2 separate regions of the Homo sapiens genome follow, and region 1 is linked to region 2. Evidence: promoter capture Hi-C in human tissues and cell types (Jung and others, 2019). All regions are on one chromosome and are shown on one strand. The core of a region is centred on a gene start or on the middle of the fragment in contact, and the rest is flanking DNA. Distances in the headings are between cores, read along the strand shown.

What was found. The method cuts DNA at HindIII sites, captures the fragments that hold promoters and counts their contacts. A contact is called where the count stands out against the background at its distance.
Region 1: a contact is called between a fragment that was not itself captured here and the fragment with the promoter of SYT4 in region 2, in 3 of the 25 tissues and cell types used here (H1 embryonic stem cells, dorsolateral prefrontal cortex and mesendoderm cells).

Annotation. Positions count from the first base shown.
Region 1 is chr18:43,031,135-43,034,829 of GRCh38, forward strand. It overlaps RIT2 (Ras like without CAAX 2), which reads right to left. Exons shown (of 5, transcript NM_002930.4): 2 at 2,677-2,733. Among named protein-coding and RNA genes, the nearest start is that of RIT2, 83 kb to the right of the region's middle. The HindIII fragment of the contact is 4,988 bases long and covers 1-3,695 here.
Region 2 is chr18:43,276,158-43,279,428 of GRCh38, forward strand. It overlaps SYT4 (synaptotagmin 4), which reads right to left and starts at 1,333. Exons shown (of 4, transcript NM_020783.4): 1 at 1,091-1,333. The coding sequence starts at 1,124. The HindIII fragment of the contact is 4,332 bases long and covers 1-3,271 here.

The sequences.
Region 1 (3,695 bases), core at 845-3,344, 240 kb before region 2:
TCTTGTCTCGGTGCCTATACTTTTTGTTTTAGCAATCCCTCCTCTTCACCAGCCTAATTCCTATGCATCTTTCAAAAATAAGTGCAGAGATTATCTGCTCTAAACTATGACACAAAATTATGGCAGGCAATTGTTTTGGACTGAGCTCCTGCCCTGGGCCTAACAGATGAGACCAAACCAAAATGAAGTCACTCACACTAGATGCCACAAAACCAAACTGAAATTTTAAGCAAGCAAATAGACCCGTGAACAGACCAATACTTTCTGAAAGCAAGAGATTCCATTCTACCTGAGTCAGTGTAATAAAGAAGTCTCCTCTGCTTTAACCCTTACAAAGACAGTAATGTGAAGTAACCTAATATTAACCAATCTGCTTTTCCTTTCTATTATTATAAATTCATTGGTTACTGATGTTGAGATTGTTGCCAATAAATAAGGGGAACAATTACTCCTTGGGATGAACACTGGTATCAAATAATATATCTAACTCTTTTCAGTGATAAAGGGATCTTACGTTTTCAGAACTGAGGTATATTTGAAAGAAGAATAACTCTAAGCTGAATATAAGGGAGAAAATAAAGCCATATATATCTCTCAATTATTTTAGACAAAAGGCTATTTAAAAGCCTCAGTCAGTAGGGTAACAAACAGATCTAGAGAAGGATTGAAAAATATTTATTTCCTATCTCAATTGTGAAAAAAGTATCCTTGATAGGTGTTATTCTTTTATAATTTGAATGATTTTCAAACTGTACTAATACGAATTTCCTCTTAAGAGGTCATTAAGTCAGCCACATTGAGTTACAGTTATGTAGCAGAAGCAGGTGGAAGGTAAATTATTTCAGACTTTTACCTTCTGCAAGCAGGATACCAATGGAAAATTGCTAACCAATATTCCCATTAGAAAGGCCACAAAATGAAATGATAGGAAAATCGGATCAAAAGTAATAAAGTACTCTATGTTTCCATTTTCAAACTTCTTCTTCTAAAGCTGTTTTATTTATAGCCAGATAAAGGTATGATTGTAGCTATCTGTTAGTACTGAATGTCCAGGTATCTTAATCTCAAGTGATAGATGTGTCTCATGGATAACTAAAGGAGACATCATCATATACTTCTCATTTCTCCTGTTTGAAGGAGTCATTTATGATTTATTCACATCTACTGCCCTGTTCAAGCTGTTAGACGTGAGAGGTTGATGAACAAGAGGCTGGTTTTTGAGACACCAATACATACAAAGCTTAAAGAATAACAGAAAATAATAAACAACTGAGTGAATTTCTGATATCATAAATTATATATTATATTATTGAATTTTCCAACAAGATAAAAGATTCAGAGATTTTTCCAAAGATTGTCCCTTTTGTGTAACTTACAGTGTGTGGTACAAAGCTATTGGCATTCTGGAATTAAGATATTTAGAAAATGGACTTAGAGAATTACCAAGCAACAGTTGCAGCTAACCACTTCTAAAACTTTACAAAGTAGTTTCTTTCTCTTTAGAAACAAACCTCAACTTGTTGAGGAAGTCCTTTCCAGTTATCACATACTAATTGCATGTACTAAATCTATCTAATCGATTTACTTCAACTGATGAGGTGGTCTTAATAAATAATCAGACATTTAAAAATAAGTATGTTTTATATATGTCAGCAATGGTATGCAAGCAAATATTCTGGGGCCTTTTGGGAAAGAATACAGGAGTATAATCTACAGCATACCACTTAATATATCAAGTAGGATCTTGAATTAAAATTTCTTGATAAGCATAATAGAAACTAGATGATCTTACCCATGGGTGGGGTGAGGATAAGATATATTCAGACTGAGGGAACAAATAGGGTAAGTAATGGGGAGTGGTTAAAGGAGCTCACCATCCAGGCAACCAGTCAGCCATGAGGCTATATGCCTCCCTCTCTGGGAAATAATGCTTGATGTGTTTTTAATACCAGTGTGTTTCTGACAAAGAGTACTACGGTGGACTCTGCTTGAAAATTTCCAGCCAATTCTTTAAAGTAGTTTTTTGAATGAGTAAAGCAATTTTAAAGGCATCTTTTGTGCTTTGAATGAGGGAGAAAACTTGTTCCCCAATGCAAAACTTCTGCAGTATATTATGACAGAAAGAAAACTGGGTAGGAGGAATAAAACATGGGTGGTGTTTTGGCTCTAGCAATATTTTAATACCTTAAATGTCAGTTTCCTAACCTTCAAGATGAGAATGATGGATAATATTATGTCTATATCTAACGTTCCAAATGCACCATTAACATGGCTAAATAACTCTGCAGTAGAAAATTCAGAGACTGACAGAAGTGAGCAAATACATATATAATCACATCAATTTTATTATCCAGAGTACAATTTTATTATCCAGAGAAACTTCTCAAATGCAGATAGATATCCATTATTAGATACTGAAATCACTTAATGGATTCCAACCACCATTTACCAGAAAGAAATAGAATAGATAATACCAGACTACCCGGCAAGAAGTAAGGACAAATACTGTCTCTTGAAGCTTCTGTTGTGGTACGTTACATATGATAGATTTGTGTGTATGTGTTCTGGGTCATAGAGTAAATTATATTTATTTTCCATCAACATTGCTATTATTTTCAAGCCACTTAGTCACAGTGTCTTTATTTGAGCTTACGGAGAAAGGAAGCTTCCACTTACCTATAGTAGGGTCATGATAATCAGGGAACTGATGACTAATAAACTGCATTGTCATTGCTGAAAGAAAAAAAACACATTTTGTTTAATAAAAATTCACTAATTCATCAATAAGTTATTTACCAACATAGTCCACCAATCTTTTAAAAGGTTATGGTGAATAAGTTAGTTATGTGAGTGACTAATTTAATTTCACACAAAATGAAAACAATAAGACGAAGTTCTAGAGGGAAAAATGTGTCAGATAATGCCAGATACTTCTCTGAAATAAATATGTTCAAATTTTAAGTGTATTTCAATAAAAATGGTATTAGAGTAAAAATAAAGAAGCTCTTGACATAATGAAAATGTAAACCAGTTACAGAATCCCTCTTGACCTTCTCTGGTTGAACAGTTGGTAATGATGTGCAAGTCCCTTTCACCAAAGAATCTGTACATTCTCTGGGACTCTAAGTTTTTCATCTTTAAAGTGAATAGATACCCTCTGAAGTTCTTACGAACTATAAAGATATGTAATTACATTATTTTTGTCTTTAACTGTTCAAAATTAAAATTATTTCAGTTACTTTTATTTTGCCTAATTTATGTTATCGACCACCTTTTCTTCATTACTTTTTTTCTGTAATTCTGTACCCTCCACATTATTTCCAAACCTATGATTTTGTAAAACATTTGTAATATTTCTATTGTAAAGTATTTCCTCATGTGAATTTCCATTATTAGGAAGCAAAAGGAACTCTGAAGCAAAACAACAAACTTATATAAAAATAGTGTATAATAGCTCTTCTCTTTCTTTTTTCCTCACTTCTGCATGTGTGTTTGTTAACAGACTCTCTCCTTGAGCAAATTTTAGGTAAGATCCTAAGCCTTCTTCTCTACTAGGCCTCAAACATGGACCCTGTCCTTGCATTCTGGCTGGGTCTATATATCCCACTTGTCAAATCCTGCTAAGTCAGTTTAGAGAGACTCCTCCCCTGATATCTGATCCTCTGTCCTACCTTCAACAAGAATCCTGCTAAGTC
Region 2 (3,271 bases), core at 83-2,582:
ATGGAAGGCTGGGAAAGAAATTCATTTATGAACATAATATCACAAATTGTCCCTATTGAATAGTTATGTCAAATGGCAAACATTTTCTATAACGTGGAAACACTTATCTACTCCCTATGTATTCTCTACTGATAAGGTCTTACAATCTTGAAAGTCAAGATCATAGTTATTTTACTCAGCTTAATAACAATTATCACACATCTGTAGATATCACTCCTCTTCACAACCTTCTATGAAATTTCATGATTTAAAAAATACGTGTAAGTAAAATTCTGACCTTTTTCCTTTGGAATATACTGAGATCTAAAAATAGTACTTTTTTACTCTATGAAGTACGTCTAATTTTATGTACTGAAACCAAAAACTTGGTGTGAGAAAAGGAAAACTGAACGGGAAAATTGGAGCCCTAATTCAAGTTTCCAGCAGCTTTTAGCTAATTGTGCAACCTATAATACTTCCCTCATCTCTCTGGGCTTTGGTTAGCTCAGCAGTGAAATGAAATGGGCTGAGCCAGTTCATTTTGAAACTCTCTTTAACCCTGCTACCATATGATTCTGTCTTTCACTAGCAACATATTTCAAGGATACAAGAAAAACATAGCAGAGAAAAACACCCATATGGTACGCCCTGTAATAAAATATACATTGCCAAACCCCAATAGACAAGTTGCTTTTTTTAACCAAGATCAAACCCCAATGTAACCAGAGATATATTTATCTTCTCCTAATAAAATATAGATTTACCTACAAATAAGAATCACCTACAAAATAGATGAAACCAACATGGGAAAAACAGACCCCTTTTTCTTTACTCAGTACATGCTGCAATTTACAGAAGTACCTGAAAATTTAAGAACTTCCTGAAGGTAAATTCTCCCTAACAGAAGACAGTTTCAGGGAGAGAGATACCAAGGAAGGGAGAGAAGCTGCAGAAATAAGCCACAATTGCCTGACTGCCATTCTCATTTTCCTTTTAAATTAACTACCTAGGAAATCTGTATTCAACAACCGGGCAAAAAATAAATGAATAAACAGTCCACCCCAGAGTATTCAAGGAATAACCGCAGTCATAAGTTCAGTAACTTGCTTACCAAATTCTTCCCGGCTGGTGGTGATCGGAGCCATTTTTTACTGCGTGTTCTGTCCGAGGTGCTGAAGGGAAAACTGCCTGGCTGGATTCACTTGCCTGGATCTCAAGCGCCGGCTTTCGGAGCGCTGAAAACAACAGCGCAGAGCCCAGGGCACCAGCTCCTGGAACAGGGAGGAGGCAAAGAGGGAGGTCCACTCGCCCTCGCACAGTGATTTGCCACCTCGGTTCCTGTTTTGGCTCTTCTGAGAAGCTCGTCTCCGAGACTCCAGACGTGGCTGGAACCCGAATTGACGCAATCCTGACGCTACAGGGCTGAAATCAGCACCTGCCCCCCTCCCCTCCTCCCTTCAAGCTTTCCTTCTTGCTTCCTCCCTCCTCTCTTGAGGATTCAACACATGCTCATCAATTATTTTAACTGTTGGACCACTAGAGATTAGCTTTGCTGTTTTGTGGGGGCTCAGAGGCTCACCGAGATAAGCCCCGAAACTGATCCCTGTCAGTTCCTAATATAAAATCTCCTGATCACCTAGATGAATAAAAATATGTTTCTGAGTTTTCAGAATAACGTAACTTACAGAGGAGAAGTTTCTGCTTCAAATTACTCTTTTTAACATGCAAAAACATGTTTTCTTGCTTTTTAATTTTTTTCTTTGACATGTTATACCTATGATACTTATTACATTTAGAAAAGATTCACTACAAATTGATGCATTTGATATAAGATAGTTTTCCCAGTATAATCCTTTATGTTCTAATAAATTATTAGTCTAAATATTTTGCTGGAACAGTTGATCTTTCCTGGTCTCTCAGCTCTCTTCCCTTTAATATCTGACATTTGACCAGTTAAAGCACTTAGGAACAGATGGGGATAATTCCTTGGATATTCAGAGTCACTCTCAGTTATGACTTTTGCAAATAATAAGGCGCTTCTGAAATGACATTTATGGTTAAAAGGCCTGACTTCTAGTACGTTTGTACAAAATAGTTTCCAAAATCAGGCCAACATCTAAAGTAACATTGGTAACATTGGTTATTTCAAAGGAAAGCATTCCTTTTTCTAAACTGATGATATTCTCGGAGGTGAAAAACTGTGAAAAATATGGTGTCGGATTCTGATTCATTGGAATCTGAAGAGTGTGCCTTTCTAAAACAAATGCTTAGCAATTTTTCAAAGGAAAGAAGTCAAGCTGTAACTCCAACTGTCAATTATTGCTCTGCAAAGAATTTCTTTGCTCTGGAGTTAATAAGGAAATGGCATTCAGTGTGTGCTGGGATGTGGGAGAAGGGATACAGGGTGAGTCTCAGAAAGCTACTGTGCAAGTGACAGGTCCCTGCACATTGGCTAGCAGCAGCCCAGAGCATCAGGGCTCTGTCTGGGGAGAAATTGGCTTCAGTTCTTTGCATCATGGAAAATTTTATAAACCAGTCTTTTTTCTTTGCTATTCTATTTGCTCCCACATACTTGGCATTGGAGTGTTCCTCTAACAGATTTTTTTAAACTTTATATCTTCATGCTTTGAAAACACACAAACTAATTTGCTGTATTTAATTTTTCTGCTGGCAGAGTCTGTGGTTGTGTCTTTATCATTTCACTTTATTCAGATTACCTATTTCCTTAATTATGCATGCATGCACCCTGTAGGGTTGTCCCTAGAAACAAATATCCATTAGGTTAAAGAATAAGTGGCATTTATTTGTGATGCATATCATAGGTGGACCAAATACATGGTGTGATGTTTACTAAAGTATATATTTTCTAGCTAAGTTATTGCTAACATATGTTTAAGCTCATTTGTTGTAAACATAAATACCTTATGTGTTTGTTCTATAAATTAGTATCTCATTAATTTTACCTTCAGATGGTATAATGTTGTTATCTGTAAACTGTACAGATTGTTTAAACTCTATTTCTACGGAACCCACCCCATCCTTTGCTGTCTGACATCTGAGGAAACATCGTGATAAGATTACCTCTTGCCCAGAGCTAATGCTATTGTGGACTAAGTAACTATTTCATTGCTTGCTTTATAAGCAAACTGAAAAGAACTGTTATTAATTAAAATGCCTGAAGTTTCCCTCATTTTCATTTGATGAATAACATTTTAGGTATTATTCAATCTCTTTAGACAAGCTTCTAGCAACACCAGATGAGGAGTGGGCAGTAGACAGACCCCACACAGAG